6 separate regions of the Homo sapiens genome follow, and regions 1, 2, 3, 5 and 6 are each linked to region 4. The links are contacts of gene promoters, found by promoter capture Hi-C in blood cells and fetal thymus (Javierre and others, 2016). All regions are on one chromosome and are shown on one strand. The core of a region is centred on a gene start or on the middle of the fragment in contact, and the rest is flanking DNA. Distances in the headings are between cores, read along the strand shown.

The links. Contacts are between HindIII fragments. The CHiCAGO score rates a contact against its expected background, and 5 or more counts as called.
Region 1: a fragment that was not itself captured here is called in contact with the fragment with the promoter of DNAJC30 in region 4 in 11 of 17 cell types (naive CD4 T cells, total CD8 T cells, total CD4 T cells and 8 more); the score reaches 8.9 in naive CD4 T cells.
Region 2: a contact is called between a fragment that was not itself captured here and the fragment with the promoter of DNAJC30 in region 4, in 2 of 17 cell types (M0 macrophages and naive CD8 T cells). The highest score is 6.7, in M0 macrophages.
Region 3: a contact is called between a fragment that was not itself captured here and the fragment with the promoter of DNAJC30 in region 4, in 5 of 17 cell types (total CD8 T cells, activated CD4 T cells, erythroblasts and 2 more). The highest score is 6.5, in total CD8 T cells.
Region 5: a contact is called between a fragment that was not itself captured here and the fragment with the promoter of DNAJC30 in region 4, in 10 of 17 cell types (naive CD4 T cells, monocytes, total CD8 T cells and 7 more). The highest score is 9.7, in naive CD4 T cells.
Region 6: a contact is called between a fragment that was not itself captured here and the fragment with the promoter of DNAJC30 in region 4, in 6 of 17 cell types (naive CD8 T cells, activated CD4 T cells, neutrophils and 3 more). The highest score is 7.8, in naive CD8 T cells.

What each region holds. Positions count from the first base shown.
Region 1 is chr7:73,541,425-73,544,124 of GRCh38, reverse strand. It overlaps BCL7B (BAF chromatin remodeling complex subunit BCL7B), which reads left to right. Exons shown (of 6, transcript NM_001707.4): 3 at 481-577. Among named protein-coding and RNA genes, the nearest start is that of BCL7B, 15 kb to the left of the region's middle. The HindIII fragment of the contact is 204 bases long and covers 1,174-1,377 here.
Region 2 is chr7:73,464,369-73,467,068 of GRCh38, reverse strand. It overlaps BAZ1B (bromodomain adjacent to zinc finger domain 1B), which reads left to right. Exons shown (of 20, transcript NM_032408.4): 10 at 668-773; 11 at 1,532-1,630. Among named protein-coding and RNA genes, the nearest start is that of FZD9, 32 kb to the right of the region's middle. The HindIII fragment of the contact is 4,496 bases long and covers 1-2,700 here.
Region 3 is chr7:73,447,009-73,449,708 of GRCh38, reverse strand. BAZ1B (bromodomain adjacent to zinc finger domain 1B) reads left to right here. Exons shown (of 20, transcript NM_032408.4): 15 at 20-167; 16 at 2,330-2,445. Among named protein-coding and RNA genes, the nearest start is that of FZD9, 15 kb to the right of the region's middle. The HindIII fragment of the contact is 2,262 bases long and covers 232-2,493 here.
Region 4 is chr7:73,682,140-73,684,839 of GRCh38, reverse strand. It overlaps DNAJC30 (DnaJ heat shock protein family (Hsp40) member C30), which reads left to right and starts at 1,387. Exons shown (of 1, transcript NM_032317.3): 1 at 1,387-2,700. The coding sequence starts at 1,417. The coding sequence ends at 2,097. BUD23 (BUD23 rRNA methyltransferase and ribosome maturation factor) reads right to left here and starts at 1,243. Exons shown (of 12, transcript NM_017528.5): 1 at 1,167-1,243; 2 at 1,036-1,073. The coding sequence starts at 1,214. RefSeq lists enhancers at 1-535, 1,466-1,635, 1,876-1,965. The HindIII fragment of the contact is 21,940 bases long and covers 1-2,700 here.
Region 5 is chr7:73,486,479-73,489,178 of GRCh38, reverse strand. The region is part of intron 6 of BAZ1B (bromodomain adjacent to zinc finger domain 1B); the gene reads left to right. Among named protein-coding and RNA genes, the nearest start is that of BAZ1B, 34 kb to the left of the region's middle. The HindIII fragment of the contact is 1,059 bases long and covers 920-1,978 here.
Region 6 is chr7:73,508,872-73,511,571 of GRCh38, reverse strand. It overlaps BAZ1B (bromodomain adjacent to zinc finger domain 1B), which reads left to right. Exons shown (of 20, transcript NM_032408.4): 2 at 720-836. Among named protein-coding and RNA genes, the nearest start is that of BAZ1B, 12 kb to the left of the region's middle. The HindIII fragment of the contact is 3,762 bases long and covers 1-2,700 here.

The DNA of each region.
Region 1 (2,700 bases), core at 26-2,525, 140 kb after region 4:
GAATGGATGAGGATGACGGATCAGGAATAGAGCCAGCCTGGGCCCATTTGTCCTGTCACTGTCTGTGTTACATGAGGTTCCTTCTTCTCTCACTTTTTCCCCACTCTGCTACTGAAACAGGAATCTTTCTCAAATGAGTGTTTTGTATTTCTTGCCCATTCGTATAGAGAAGGGTTGCCTGGCGCAATTTGATCAGGGCAGGAGAGGGATACTATGGGATGTTCTAGTCGAAGTGTATGTATCTGCCTGTTGCTTATGATTCACAGTATTCCTGCTGGAAGGGTTCATTTTTCTGAGGCTTGAGGAGAAGTTGCTTGTCCAGGATTCTGTTCTTCCTTGGGTCCTTGGATTCTCACGCTGCTGTCGTTTTTCCTGTTCAGTCCTAATCCAGACCTCTGTGGTCTGTCACATAGCACCCTCCTCCCTCTCTGTGAGTCTCCTGCTTGGCTCTGTCATATTCCTCTTTTTTTCCTTTTCTAGAAAGAAAAGTCAAAATCGAACAGTTCAGCAGCCCGAGAACCTAATGGCTTTCCTTCTGATGCCTCAGCCAATTCCTCTCTCCTTCTTGAATTCCAGGGTGAGTTGCATCTCTGTGTCTTCCTTGCAGGAGAATGAAAACTTGGATGAATGCATTAATAAGAAGAATTGGCCAGGTGCAGTGACTCACACCTGTAACCTCAGCACTTTGGGAGTCTGAGGCGGGCAGATCACCTGAGGTCAGGAGTTCAAGACGAGCCTGGCCAATATGGTGAAACCCAGTCTCTACTAAAAATACAAAAAGTTAGCTGAGCGTGGTGGCGCGTGCCTGTAATCCCAGCTACTCGGGGGTCTGAGACAGGAGAATCGCTTAAACCCAGGAGGTGGAGGTTGCGGTGAGCCGAGATTGCGCCACTGCACTCCAGCCTGGGCTGCAGAGTGAGACTCCGTCTCAAAAAAAAAAAAAAAGAATTCTGTGTATCAATTCAGTGCCTGCTGTTTCGCTGGTATTTTGCGAGGCACTTGACCTAAATCTTTTCATTTAAACTTCACGATAACTCTGCAAGATAGGTAATGGTATTCTCATTTTCCAGTTAAGGAAACTGAGGCTCAGAGAGGTTAAGTTACGTGTCTAAAGTTACATAACTTGTAAGTGACAGACTCCATGTCAGGTCCTGGTTGTCCGAATCAGAAGCTTTTTTTTAGATTGTACTTCATTTTTTATTTTTTATTTTTTGTAGAGACAGAGTCTGGCTATGTTGTCCAGGCTGGTTGTGAACTCCTGGCCTCAAGCAGTCCCCCAGCCTTGACCTCCCAAGGTACAAGCATGAGCCACTGCACCTGGCCTAGACTGTATGTTTTATCATAGTCGCTTAGAGTAGGCTACCCAAAGCCGAAGCTTCTGCTTACCCACTGTTAGGACATGTTCTGCCTCCTAAACCAATCCCGCCGGATCATCACCGTAGTCATGATACTGCCTTTTACACCTACCTGCTAGGTACTGTCTACGAAGCACTTTTACTTTACTTTCTCATTTTTACCCATGTATCAGCCTGTGATATAAACCAGGCAGTTATTATCATCCCTATTTAAGGAAACTGATGCTCAGGGAGGAACAGTGTTTTGTCTAAGCTCAAAAGTGACAGTTTTATTCATTTGGTGACAAAATGCTACTTCCATTTTAGTGTGGGTATTAAAGGTCTTTATAGGAGTCAAGACTAGCATGAGTTTATGACTTTCTCTTCAAAACCAGATTGGAGCTAACCCAGCGTGTAGTTATTCCTTCCCCACCTCTTTCCCAGGCCCCACCAAGGTCAACCATGTGCTGTTGGAAAGGGAACACCAACGTGTGTTCAGTAGTCAGAAGGCTCTGGGAGACATATGAGGCTCCATTTCCTCAGTCTGGCCACCATCTCCTCCTTTTCATTTAGTAAACACTTAATGAACTCCCACTGTATGCAGGTACCGTGCGTTGCACTGGGGAGTCAAGGACAAGTGAGCCACAGAGCCTGTCCACAGAGGCTCATGGGAGGAAGCACGTGTGCGAAATGATAAATGCAGGCGTGCACAGGCTATCACAGGAGAGTAAGAGAGGGTGGGCATTTCCACCTATGCGAGCCAGGGAGGTAGGGCTCCGCGGAAGAAGTGATGTCGGGGCTGTGTTGGGAGGTCTGAGGCTTTCCAGGACAAGAGAAGGCAGCCTAGCCAAGGAACAGCTGGGCAGAAGCACCCATGCATGACGAAGCTCTTGGGTTAGGGTCCAGTCTGCCTGGAGCTGAGGATGCTTGTAGGAGAACAGTAGGCACTGAGGCCAGAGATCAGAAAGGACTTCCTATGTTGCGATAAGGCCAGCTCCTGCCTCTCCTAAGAAGTACTGGGTATGGCTGGGCGTGGTGGCTCATGCCTGTAATCCCAGCACTTTGGGAGGCTGAGGCAGGTGGATTACCTGAGGTCAGGAGTTCGAGACCAGCCTGACCAACATGGTGAAACCCCGTCTCTAATAAAAATACAAAATTACCCAGGCGTGGTGGCGCAAGCCTGTAATCCCAGCTACTCAAGAGGCTGAGGCAGGAGAATCAGTTGAACCCAGGAGGCAGAGGTTGTGGTGAGCTGAGATAGCACCATTGCACTCCAGCCTGGGCAACAAGAGCGAAACTCGGTCTCAAAAAAAAAAAAAAAAAAAGTACTGGGTATGACATTTCTCCCTTAGGCAGCAGTGGAGCG
Region 2 (2,700 bases), core at 20-2,519, 220 kb after region 4:
CCCAGCCACTCGGGAGTCTGAGGCAGGGAGAATTGCATGAACCTGGGAGGCAGAGGTTTCAGTGAGCTGAGATTGTACCACTGCACTCCAGCCTGGGCGACAGAGCGAGACTCTATCTCAAAAAACAAAACGAAACAAAACAAAAAACCAAATATTGTGATGATCTAAGATAGGCTTTGATAAATTGGCTCAAGATATATCTATGTTAAAGTCACGTATCAGTATATAGGAACTGATTTACAAAAAAGTTAGTTGTATTATTTGACACTTGAAGCCTCCAAGGATAAGTCTATAGTATTTATATGTTCTCATTACCTCTGCTTCACTACAGATGCCTTTGCTCTTAACATCATGTAAAAGGAGTAAATTCTTTATTTTGCTTTGATATAAAGATATTTAGTCATTCTTCATTCTAAGTTGCAGTACCCCTAAACTTTGGAACTGTGTAACGATTCCACTTCAGAGAGCAAATATCTGAGATAACATGCTGTGTTTAAGATATTTAAGAGAAATTAGCATCTTTTATACATGAAGATATATTTGATATATTTCACAGGAAGTATCTGTGTTGTTACAAATTGTTGAGTTTGGCACTGTGTACTGCTTAGATTTGAAACTAGCAATTGGGTATTTACTAAAGTCAACCTAATGTCTCAATTTTTCTTAGGTAAGAAAGCAAACTTAGGTAAAAATGCAAGCATGAACACACAACATGGAACAGCAACAGAAGTTGCTGTAGAGACAACCACACCCAAACAAGGACAGAACCTATGGTAATGTGAGCATTCATCTGGTTGCTCTTTCTTTTTCCTTTTAATTGTTAAGGAAGAAAGTATTTAGTATAGTGATGCCAGTGAGTTAATAATTATTTGCGCAGGATACTTTGTGTGACTGATATTTTGGATATCAAAACTTCTTGCATTAGCAGACCTGATTTTTTGTTAAGAAGATACTTGTTTTTTTAAGGGTTGGAATTTTGATTTTTTCCCCCCTGTAATATAACTTTGTATATTATGTGATAGATCTTATATAGCAGTAGAAATGTAGCTTAAATTTGGTTGGGAATAGAAGTATTTAAGATTTTCCTTAAATTTTATTAATTAACAAATTGTATGCATAGCTATTCGTTTCCTTTATGCGCATTTCTGCTTTTAGGCAGCGAGCTAGGTTTTAGAGGATCCATTCTACGGCTTTAACTGTGATCACCTGTGATTTAATGACCTTTCATTTTTGAATTTTGGGTATAGGTTTACTCTCTGGAGGGAAAGGGACAAGTATGCCAATTAACTTTATAAAATTTCATATAATATTTTAATAGGAACCATATTGGCTCTGGTGTCCTAGTACAGAATTAACATTAGGCATCATGAAAATAGTAAATTACTTATTCTACTTCTAGATAGTAGATTGTGAACACATTTGGAATTCTGTTCTCCCAAGTCCCACCACCAACTCTAGATCCCTTGCTTAGTGTTTGATTTTGAATTTTTTTTTTTTTTTCAGAGTTATCAGGTCTCTTTTGCCCCTACAGGTTTTTATGTGATAGTCAAAAGGAGCTGGATGAGTTGCTAAACTGTCTTCACCCTCAGGGAATAAGAGAAAGTCAACTTAAAGAGAGACTAGAGAAGAGGTAAGAGGTTTTCATCTTACTCCTCACATCTTACTTCTCTTTAGCATTGGATATAAATATCTGAGGGTTTTTTTTCTTATCCATTTAAGTTACTAAAGTAAAATATTTTAAATGTGTAACCGTTTTGTGTTCATATTGCCTGGTATTTTCTTGGCATATTATGCTTATTGGAAAAATATACCTTTGGCCATCTATATATAGAGTAGCAGGATTATTATGCACTAAAGAACAGTTGCCAGCACCAAGCTGTGAGCCTCATGGTTGTCAGACAGCTTTGCAGATGGAGGCCCAGATGGGTGGGTGTCCAGAAGTATTCTATCAATATTCAGAAGAGCCAAAAGGTGGAAACAACGGCAATGACTATCAACTGATGGAACGGATAAATAAAAGTTAGTATATATCCAGGCCTTGTGCGGTGGCTCACACCTGTAATCCCGGCACTTTGAGAGGTAAAGGCAGGCCAGTGTCTTGCATCCAGGAGTTTTGAGACCAGCCTGGGCAACATAGGGAAACTCCGTTTCTGAAAAAAAAAAACAAAACAAAAATTATCTTGGGTGTGGTGGTTTGTGTATGTAGTCTTAGCTACTTGGGAGGCTGAGCTGAGTTGATCACTTGAGCCCAGGAGGCGGAGGTTGCATTGAGCCAAGATCATGCCCCTGCACTCTGGCCTGGGTGAGAGAGCGAGATGCTGTCTCATACAAAATGAAACAAAAAACCCCCAAAATTTAGTATATTCAAATAGTGGAATATTATTTAGCCACAAAAAGAAATGAAGTACTGTTCTGTGCTACAACATGAATGAACCTAGAAAACATGCTAAGCAAAAGAAGTCAGACATCAAAGGCCATGTGGTGTATGATTCCATTCAAATGAAACATCTTAGAATAGGCAAATCTATTTCAAACAGAAAGTGGATTAGTGGTTGCCAGAGGATAGGGGAAGGGGAGAATAGGAGTGATGATTGCTAACAGGTAAGAGATTCCTGCTTGGGGTGATGAAAATGTTTTGGAATTACATGTGTGGTTCTACAACAAAAAACTGAAGTACATGCTTCAAGTTGGTGAATTTCA
Region 3 (2,700 bases), core at 113-2,612, 240 kb after region 4:
CACATTTATCTCTCTGCAGGTGAGGATGACAAATTGATCTTGTGTGATGAGTGTAATAAAGCCTTCCACCTGTTTTGTCTGAGGCCGGCCCTCTATGAAGTACCAGATGGTGAGTGGCAGTGCCCAGCTTGCCAGCCCGCTACTGCCAGGCGCAACTCCCGTGGCAGGTGAGAATCTTTTCTTTTAAAAATAATTGAATGAATAAATATGAATAGCTGTTATAATTAAGCTTGAGTTATTCAAACAGAATGAATCTAAGGAGCTTTAAGTTCATCTTTTGGGTACAGAGCCTGATCATTTACAGTACTTCAATAGGAGCTCAAAGGACTCTGAGCTAATTTTAGCTGAATGTTGACATTTCTAGTTTTCACTGCCAGCCACATTCTCTGTCTTCTTGATCATACCTTCTTCTCAAGTAATGAAATCTCTCTCTCTGCCTTTAGCCTCCTGTTGCCCACTTCCTGTGTCTTCATGATTACTTCTGCTATCACCCACTGCTAAAAATCTCACACTCATTACCTTCCTTACCGATACATAATGTTTTCTTCCCTATCATGAGTAGAACTTGGGTGTCAACTTGGAAATGAACATCTCTCCCTCATCCTACAAACCCATTAATTTGCCATGATATCAATCCAATGCCCAGATGTTTGATGATCCAGTTTCTTGCTCTCCATTCTCCGTGGTCTCCGCTATCATTTGTCCCTTCTACATCTGTCACCTGGGCTCCTTTGGTGGCTTCTCAACTCCTCTTTCTTATATCACGTCTTCTCCCCTCTTATCCACCCAACTATTGCAACACCAGAATGCTGTACACAAAGCAAAGATCTGCTCACATTCCTGATCACAAACTTCTAGTCTTCCCATTGCCTCTAGAATAACATCCCAATTCCTGGCCTCACTTCTGAGACTCTTACACAATACCAGCTTGGGTTTTTATTAGCTTTAGATCCCATATTTGTGTACTTGTTACAGACCGTTTGTTGTTCATCCTTGCCTCTTGTGCCTTTCTCCCAGCTGGGAACATTCTCTGCCCAGAATTCCCAGTGGGTAAACTGCCCATGGCTTCGCTAAAATTTCACTGCGCTTTTGAAAAGTGCTTGCATCCTTAGGCTTCATGGTTTCTCCTCTGTGTTCAGCTGAACCTCCATTCTCTGAAGTAGTATTTTGGTGCATGGATCTTGTCTCTGGTTTTATACATGTCTGTCTCCCATGAGATTATGAATGCCCTGAGAGTAGAGGTGGTGCTTTGTTTTTTTACTTGAATCTCAATAAGGCCAAATACCGGGCCTTGTAAAGAGGAGACACCTTGTACTTGCCAAGATAATACTGTTGTTTTCCACACTGAAATTTGGGGTTGTAAAATGTGCAGCTTATAGGTACTCTGGCTTGGGCTTCTTTTTTGAGACGGAGTTTCGCTCTTGTTGCCCAGGCTGGAGTACGATGGCGCGATCTCGGCTCACTGTAACTTCCACCTCCCAGGTTCAAGCGATTCTGCTGCCTCAGCCTCCCGAGTAGCTAGGACTACAAGCATGCGCCACCACACCCAGCTCATTTTGTATTTTTAGTAGAGATGGGGTTTCTCCATGTTGGTCAGGCTAGTCTCGAACTCCCGACCTTAGGTGATCCGCCTGCCTCAGCCTCCCAAAGTGCTGGGATTACAGGCGTGAGCCACGGTGCCCGGCCTGGGCTTCCTTCTAAGGGGCAGAGCTGTTTGATCCTGACCCCACCTTAACAGTATTAGCAGGTTCTTTTGCACTCCATCCCAGCTGCACTTAGAGATGAGACATGTTGCTCTGAAATGGTGGGGCTTTGGACCAGCTGTTCCGAGCTGGGATTACCACTGCTTTGATATTATGGTCATCTGCAAGCTGTTTCAGCTCCTGGAAGGGGGCCATCAAGGTGAAGTCACACCTGTCTGGGCTCTGTTTATTCTTTTCAGTCTACCTCAGAGGTGGGGACAGCTTTTAGTAACTGATGTATTACATTATCTGGCTCTTTTTGTGAGACAAAAGAAACAGTGTTTTGTATTGCTTTGTGTGGGGAAGGGTAGGATTGCATTTTGGTCTTAATTTCTGTTGCCTTTGGTATCTTGTCCAAACTGTCTGTGGCCTGGCAGAAGGAGGCATGAGGCATGCTGTTGAAACTTGGTTTTTCATTTTTATGAAAAACTCTCCTGGCTTACATTCAGGTTCCCTCCCTGAATTATCATACGTTATACATATGTAGTCTGTGAAGAGAAGTTTCCTGATCCCTGTGGGATTTGAGCCCTTCTTAGGACCACTTTGGGCTAAAACTGTGTTCCCTACATTATTTTTTCTACCCACAGGAACTATACTGAAGAGTCTGCTTCTGAGGACAGTGAAGATGATGAGAGTGATGAAGAGGAGGAGGAGGAAGAAGAGGAGGAGGAGGAAGAAGATTATGAGGTGGCTGGTTTGCGATGTAAGTATTTTGTCTGCCTTTGTAGTTGATTTCACAGTCTTCTAAGCTTGGAACGCTTGGAAAGGCTGGCTTGGCAGTAGGTAGTGTGGCCGGCTTGCCCTATTCCTTTTCTCTTGTGTTGTGACTGTGGCGTAACTTAGCTGCCATGGGTTTAAATGGGTTTCCAAGATGGCGTTTAACTTCCTGCCTGGTGGGAGAGAAGGTGGCTTGATCTCAGTAACATCAACCCACTTGCTCTAAGATTTAGTAGAATTC
Region 4 (2,700 bases), core at 138-2,637:
CTATTCTCCTGCCTCAGCCTCCCGAGTAGCTGGGGTTACAGAAACCCGCCATCGCGCCCGGCTAATTTTTTCCATTTTTAGTAGAGCTGGAGTTTCGCCATGTTGGCCAGGCTGGTCTCGAACTCCTGACCTCAGGTGATCCGTCTGCCTCAGCCTCCCAAAGTGTTGCGATTACAGGCGTGAGACACCGCGCCAGCTTCCCCCCGCCCCCATCCCCCCCCCTTTTTTTTTTTTTTAACGACTCGAGGTGCGCTGGCTCACGCCTGCAATCCCAACAGTTCGGGAGACGAAGGCGGGAGGATCGCTTGAGCCCTGGGCTTGGGCCACCTTGGGCAACACAGCGAGACCCCATCGCAACAAAAATTTACAAAAAAAAGCCAGGCGTAGTGGCGCGCGCCTGTGGTCCCAACTACTGGAGAGGCAGAGGGGAGCCACCACACCCGGCTAATTTTTTTATTACTTGCGGAGACGGGGGCTCGCTACGTTGCCCAGGCTGGTCTCGAACCCCTGAGCTCAAGCGATCCTCCCGCCTCAGCCTCCCAAAGTGCTGCGATTGCTGAGATTACACGCGTGAGCCACTCCCACCTGGCTACAACTCAGTAGTTATACAAACTACCCTCTATGAAATTCAGACAATAATACACCAACTGCTGTCTTGGAGATTTATTGGCAACAAGGCGCCACGATAAGCATCCTACGGCCATTACTTCCTTCCCCCCACCAGGACTGACCCCTCGCCCGTACCCACCGCCCAGCGCCTCTTTTACCACATGTTTAGGACAAATTGTCACATTCGACTTTGAAAACCACCCACGGAAAGCAAGCGCGATCACCCCTACCTCAACGCTGAGGTACCGAGGCCCAGAGAGGTCGGCAACTTAAAGTTGATTTACCAGAGACAGAAATCGGCACCCACCCGGGTCCTTCCCTTCCCGCACCCCCAAATTCTACGGCCTTTCCGGGCAACGCCAGCAACAGGGGCAACTTGCCGCTTCCCGACCCCCGGACGCCCCGCAGTATTCAGGCTCCCCTCACTTGCGAACGTATTTCCGGGCTTCTGTCTCGTCATAAAACTGCGAAAAAGAGAAAATGGCATGTAGAGGAATAATTCAGACGCGGTGGCCGCAGAAGTGGGGAGAGGGGTGTCCGCGGGCCCCGGGACTTACCAGCTCTGGGGGTCCGCCATGCTCCGGACGCCGGCCGCGGGACGCCATTCTCACGCCTCAGCAGCACACCTGCGACTGGCGCCTGCCGGCACCCGGTTTTTATGTCATCAGCCCGGCGACCGCTTAGTAATACGCATGTTCCACCCCCACGACCGCCCCGCCCCCCCCTTTACGTGACTGGCCACAGGGCGACCAACCGACTCCTCTCATTGGCCGGTTTCTCTTGCACCGCCTGCCGAATCAATTCAACATGGCAGCCATGCGCTGGCGATGGTGGCAGCGGCTGTTACCTTGGAGGTTGCTGCAGGCCCGTGGCTTTCCACAAAATTCTGCACCCAGCCTGGGCCTAGGAGCGAGGACTTATTCCCAGGGCGACTGCTCGTATTCGCGCACGGCGCTGTATGATCTGCTCGGCGTCCCCTCCACAGCCACGCAGGCCCAAATCAAGGCGGCTTACTACCGTCAGTGCTTTCTCTACCACCCGGACCGCAACTCCGGGAGCGCGGAGGCCGCCGAGCGCTTCACGCGCATCTCCCAGGCCTACGTGGTGCTGGGCAGTGCCACCCTCCGTCGCAAGTATGATCGCGGCCTACTCAGCGACGAGGACCTGCGCGGACCTGGCGTCCGGCCCTCCAGGACGCCCGCACCCGACCCCGGCTCGCCGCGTACCCCGCCGCCCACCTCTCGGACCCACGACGGTTCTCGGGCCTCCCCCGGCGCCAACCGCACGATGTTCAACTTTGACGCCTTCTACCAGGCCCACTACGGGGAACAACTGGAGCGGGAACGGCGCCTGAGGGCCCGGCGGGAGGCCCTTCGCAAACGGCAGGAGTATCGGTCCATGAAAGGCCTCCGCTGGGAGGATACCCGAGACACGGCTGCCATTTTCCTCATCTTTTCAATCTTCATCATCATCGGCTTTTATATTTAATCGGAGAGAGAAGGGAAGGGGAGTGTCCCCAGCCAACCCCCCAGAAACGGCCTTTTTTCCTGCCTCTGAACCCTTGGCCATTGATAGTCTACCTTTGCTGGGATCCGAAGGAACTGTACTCCCCCTGCCCTCCCCGACCCGCCCAGCTTAGCCGATGACCTGCACATCGCTCCACTGTGGTCCAGAAAAGGAGGCCTTTCGATGTCTGAGAAAGAGGCCCCACGCTGTAGAGTCCCGAAAGCCCAGGAGTGAAGGGGGTTCCTGGAGTCTCTAGGGTGCTTCTTCCAGAGTCTGTCTTCTTGCTTCCAGATGTGGTCAACTTCTGGAACACTCGCTGTAGCTTTATTGTTTAGCCCCAAGCAAGATTTATCTCCTCCTGCCCCGCATGTGTATGGTGGGCCTCTGTAACCTTGAAATGTGCAATGTGACCAATTGTTGACTACCAAAAGAAAAGGTCTGGGGTTGTACGAAACTTGTCTTTCTGTGACTTCCCCAAGCCGCAGGTGAGACCTGGTCCAGGGTAAGAATGGGATCGGTGGAGAGCCTGTCGTTCCTCCCGCTAAGGTCAGCCCCCTGGGGCACTCCTCCTTATGTTGATAGCAT
Region 5 (2,700 bases), core at 200-2,699, 200 kb after region 4:
ATTTTTGGACAGCAGGATAAAGCATCATTATTTCTCTGATGGCTCCAGTATATTTATATTTATAGCAGGTTTTGAACTCTAACATCAGATAATGAATTAAAAATTTTTCAGGTATATCTGTTACATACAGGTTGTTATGTGAGGTTGGTAGGGGAGAGGCCACATTTAATATCTTCCCCAGTTCAATTTATTTTTTATTATGCTAGCATAATTTTAAAAGTCTATATACATGTGCTTTTGTGCCTCAGACCCTTTTTGGAATGAGGTATGGTATAAATATAAAAAGTATTTTGTTAACCAGTTACCAAGAATGAAAACTGATTTTGCATGTCGGACAAGATGATCACATACAGTGGCAGCCTTGAAAAGAACCTGGAATGAGGAGCAGTGTGTGTGATAGATTAGTGGAAAACCTAGTATTTTCCTCTTGAAGAGTAAGTTTTTTTTGTTTTTTTTTTTTTTTTGAGTTGGAGTCTCGCTCTGTCACCCAGGCTGGAGTGCAGTAGTGCGATCTCGGCTCACTGCAACCTCCTTCTCCTTCTTCTCAGCCTCCTGAGTAGCTGGGATTACAGGCATGTGCCACCACACCTGGCTAATTTTTCTATTTTTAGTAGAGATGGGGTTTTGCCGTGTTGGCCAGGCTAGTCTTGAGCTCCTGACCTCAAGTGATCCGCCTGCCTCGGCCTCCCAAAGTGCTGGGATTACAGATGTGAGCCACCATGCCTGGCCGAGAAGGAGTAATTTTTAAAATCCTCACTTTTGATTTTCCAAATATTTTTATGAAGTTATATGGTACATATATATATTTCATTTTACAGATGGGGTATCTGAGGCCTAGTCTAATCAGAACCAACAGAAAGTGATGACAAGACTTAAGACACTGGCCTAGGATTTCTGATTTTCTTTTCCATTTCAAGCTTTACCTGTTAAAGTGGTTTTTTAATGTAGGTTTTGAAAGTACTTAATGCTTCTTTCATTGGTAAATGTAACGCAGCATACTGGCTGATAATTTTCATCTTGGTCTCTGGGCCAGCGTAGAACCAGAAAAGGGCTCTTGATCCATTAAAACTAGGTCACATTTCCAGGATTTCTTTTTTTCCCATTTCATTTAATTATGAAAATATAAAGACATCTGAAGTCATAACAACTAAATTTGTTCAATTATCTTAAGTTGATTATGGTGACAAAAGCATATTGAAAAGTAATTTTATTTCTCCAAAACATTAGTAAAGACCTCCAGTCATGGTTTTAGCACTTAGCAGATTTTCTTATTCTAGACCAGCAAGATAAGTGGTGTCTTCTGTTATGCTCTTTAAATTATTATTATTTGCTTAAAAGGAAAAATTTAGAAAGTAATTGGCTTTTTCTAGATCAGGACTAAATTTTCCATGGAACTATAATTTTTTTCTCAGATGTTTGTTTTTGTTTGTTGAGGAGAAATTTTGAGTTCACTGTCATTTTGTTGCCACAGAGTTTGGAACCATGATTCAGCTTTCTGTGGTCTTCACATGAGATTCCTATCTTCGCTATATGAGAACTCCATGAAACCATCTCTAAATGGGTTTTAGACTAATTCTTGGATTACTTGAGTCCTTAATATTTTCCTCTTTTCTAATCTTACAGCTCTGTTTTATGTATTTTAGTTTAGTGATTCAAGTATGTGAATAATGTGAAAGACTCTTTTTATGGGTAAAATATTTTTTGAGTTTCCTAAGACATAAAAGCTGATCCACACTTATTTCTTACTTTAGAGACAGGGTCTTGCTCTGTTACCCAGGCTGGAGTGCAGTGGGACAATCACAGTTCACTGCAGCCTGAAATTTCTGGGCTCAAGTGATCCTCCTCCCTGTGTCTCACTAGTAGCTGGGGACTACAGGCACGTACCACCACGCCCAGCTGATCCACAATTTTTGTAGGAGAGAGAGACTAGAACTCCAGGAACTTAAAACCTGAAAGGCAATTTCTGAAGAAATAAGCTTCTCCCAGAATTTCTAGTGGGGGCTTAACTTACTAATGTTATGAAATTTGGCTATAATTTAGGTTAAGACTAGGAAATGGAAGCTTGCTTAAAGTGCTGGAAGATGGCAGTGATTTTACTCAGAAAACTTAAGACTCATGTAAAATACTGGTCTACAAAGTTAAAGGCATATACTCAGGTTTATTATTTGTTTTCCCTACCTTAAACAATAATTTCTTATTTCCTAATACTATCTGACATGTCACTGATTGTTTTCTGTATATAAGCTGTGTTTTTCCTATTTATAAAATTAGGACTTTGGCTTCTCAGCCAGGGCAAAACATAGTAACACAGATGATAAGTAGAACCTAAAACATTGCTTTGTTTTCTTTCTTTTTCTAGAAGAAATTTAAAATAATCTGTTGAGGATTAAAGTTGATCACATAGGACCCATCCATCCAAAGGCATGGGATGTTTTCTCTCTCTGTATACTCTTTGGTTTTTGTAGAATGTAATGTTCTGTCAGGCTCTGAGTACATTTACTGTAGAGTGAGACCAGGTGTAAAGAGAGTGAGTTCTGAGCAATAGTTTTAGCAGGCCAGGCGCAGTGGCTCACGCCTGTAATCCTAGCACTTTGGGAGGCCGAGTTGGGCGGATCACGAGGTCAGGAGATCGAGACCATCCTGGCTGACATGGTGAAACCCCGTCTCTACTAAAAATACAAAAAATTAGCCGGGCGTGGT
Region 6 (2,700 bases), core at 6-2,505, 170 kb after region 4:
TTGTACTAAAATATTAATTTTTTTTGTAAAACACGAAAAACCATTTTTATTATTTTTTATTTTTATTTTTTGTAGAGATGAGGTCTCATCATGTTGCCCAGGCTGGTCTCGAACTCCTGGTCTCAAGTGATTGTCCTGCCGTGGCCTCTCAAAATGCTGAGATTAGAGACGTGATCATCCCAGTCTGTAAATCCCATGCAGGTGCCCAGCCCATGACAATCCATTCTCATTATACTTCAGTCTTAGTCATCTTGCTTTGGGCCCTGATTCCATTTTTTTCATTTTTTTTTATTTTTTTTAGTTTTTGAGACGGAGCCGCACTGTCTCCCAGGCTTGAGTGCAGTGGCGTGATCTTGGCTCACTGCAAGCTCCGCCTCCCGGGTTCACGCCATTCTCCTGCCTCAGCCTCCTGAGTAGCTGGGACTACAGGCGCCCACAACCACTCACAGCTAATTTTTTGTATTTTTAGTAGACACGGGGTTTCACCGTGTTAGCCAGGCTGGTCTCGATCTGACCTCGTGATCCGCCCGCCTCGGCCTCCCAAAGTGCTGGGATTACAGGCGTGAACCACTGCGCCCGGCCTCCAATTCCATTTTTATCCTCTCATGCTACACATTTTAAAAAGGAGACTAGATTTTTTTCTGTATATAAGTATCTTATGGGTATGGGTTTGTCGTCTCTGTTGCTTGCATATTGTTTTCCTGAACTACTGCCAACAGAGAGTATGAAGCCCGCTTGGAAAGGTACAGTGAGCGCATTTGGACGTGCAAGAGTACTGGAAGCAGTCAGCTAACACACAAGGAAGCCTGGGAGGAAGAACAGGAAGTTGCTGAGCTGTAAGTAATGGAAGTATTGCTCTTTGCCACCATCTTCACATTGTTAGGAAAGGAGGGAATATTAACCCTAAAGCAGTATGTGTATTTAAGTTTATGGGGCACAAATTAGACTATATTACATTAGTGTACTGTATGGGTTTCTGGGTTCCTTTGCCTAATGGCATTTTGCAGTAGCAATATGGAATATTTATTTAGTTATAGGTGCACTTGTTTAGGTATTTACCAGGCCTTTGAGTGTTCCTGCTCCATACTTTGACCTTGTAAGTACTCTGGTAATGTGGTTTATTCTTTTTTGCTTTTTCTTTTTTTGAGACGGAATCTCGCTCTCGCCCAGGCTGGAGTGCAGTGGCACGATCTCGGCTCACTGCAAGCTCCGCCTCCCGGGTTCAAGTGATTCTCCTGCCTCAGCCTCCCAAGTAGCTGGGACTACAGGTGCTCGCCACCAAGCCCGGATAATTTTTTGTAGTTTTAGTAGAGATGGGGTTTCACTATGTTAGCCAGGATGGTCTCAATCTCCTGACCTCGTGATCCTCCCGCCTTGGCCTCCCAAAGTGCTGGGATTACAGGCGTGAGCTACCGCGCCTGGCCCTTATTCTTATTTTTATTTTTGAGATGGAGTCTCACTCTGTTGCCCAGGCTGGAATGCAGGGGCACGATTTCGGCCCACTGTAACCTCTATCTCCTGGGTTCAAGTGATTCTCGTGCCTCAGCCTCCTGAGTAGCTGGGTCTACAGGCGCTCACCACCACGCCTGGCTAATTTTTGTGTTTTTAGTAGAGATGGGGTTTCACCATGTTAGCCAGGCTGGTCTCGAACTCCTGACCTCAAGCGACCTGCTCATTTCGGCCTCCCAAAGTGCTGGGATTACAGGCGTGAACCACTGCACCCAACCGGGTATGATAATTAAATTTTTTTTTTTTTTTGCTAGTTTAATAAGTGAAAAGTGTTAAATCATTGCTGTCCTTTTGCAACAGCTCTGGTGTTCAAGTCACGTTTCCAACATGTTAACGCTTCCTGGTTTCCTTTTTTTTAAGAGGCACAGTTTCGCTCTGTTGCCCAGGGTGGAGTGCAGTGGTATGCACATAGCTCCTGGGATCAAGCCAGCCTCTTGCCTCAGCCTCTTACGTAGCTGGAACTATAGGTGCATGCCACCTCACCCAGCTAATTATTTTAGTTTTTTATAGAGGCAGGTTCTCACTCTGTTGGCCAGGCTGGTCTCAAACTCCTGGGCTCAAGCAATCCTCCCACCTGTGCCTTTCAAAGTGCTGGGACCCACTGTGTCCAGCAAACTGCATGTTTTTTTTTAATCTTTGTATTCCCCAGTGCTTTACGTATATTTGCTAAAGCAGTGTTGTTTTGCTGTGAACCTAAAACTCGTAAAATGTTAAGTGTTTTTTTTTGTTTGTTTGTTTTTTGAGACTGAGTCTCTCTCTGTTGCCCAGGCTGGAGTGCAATGGTGTGATCTTGGCTCACTGCAACCTTCGCTTCCCGTGTTCAAGTGATTCTCCTGCCTCAGCCTCCCGAGTAGCTGGGATTACAGGCATGTGCCACCACGCCCGGCTAATTCTTGTATTTTGAGTAGAGACAGGGTTTCGCCATGTTGGCCAGGCTGGCCTTGAACTCCTGACCTCAGGTGATCTGCCCGCCTTGGCCTCCCAAAGTGCTAGGATTACAGGTGTGAGCCACCACGCCCAGCCAAAAGTTAAGTCTTTTTTTTTTTTTTTGAGATGGAATCTCGCTCTGTCGCCCAGGCTGGAGTGCAGTGGTGCGATCTCGGCTCACTGTAAGCTCCGCTTCCTGGGTTCATGCCATTCTCCTGCCTCAGCCTCCCAAGTAGCTGGGACGATAGGCACCAGCCACCATGG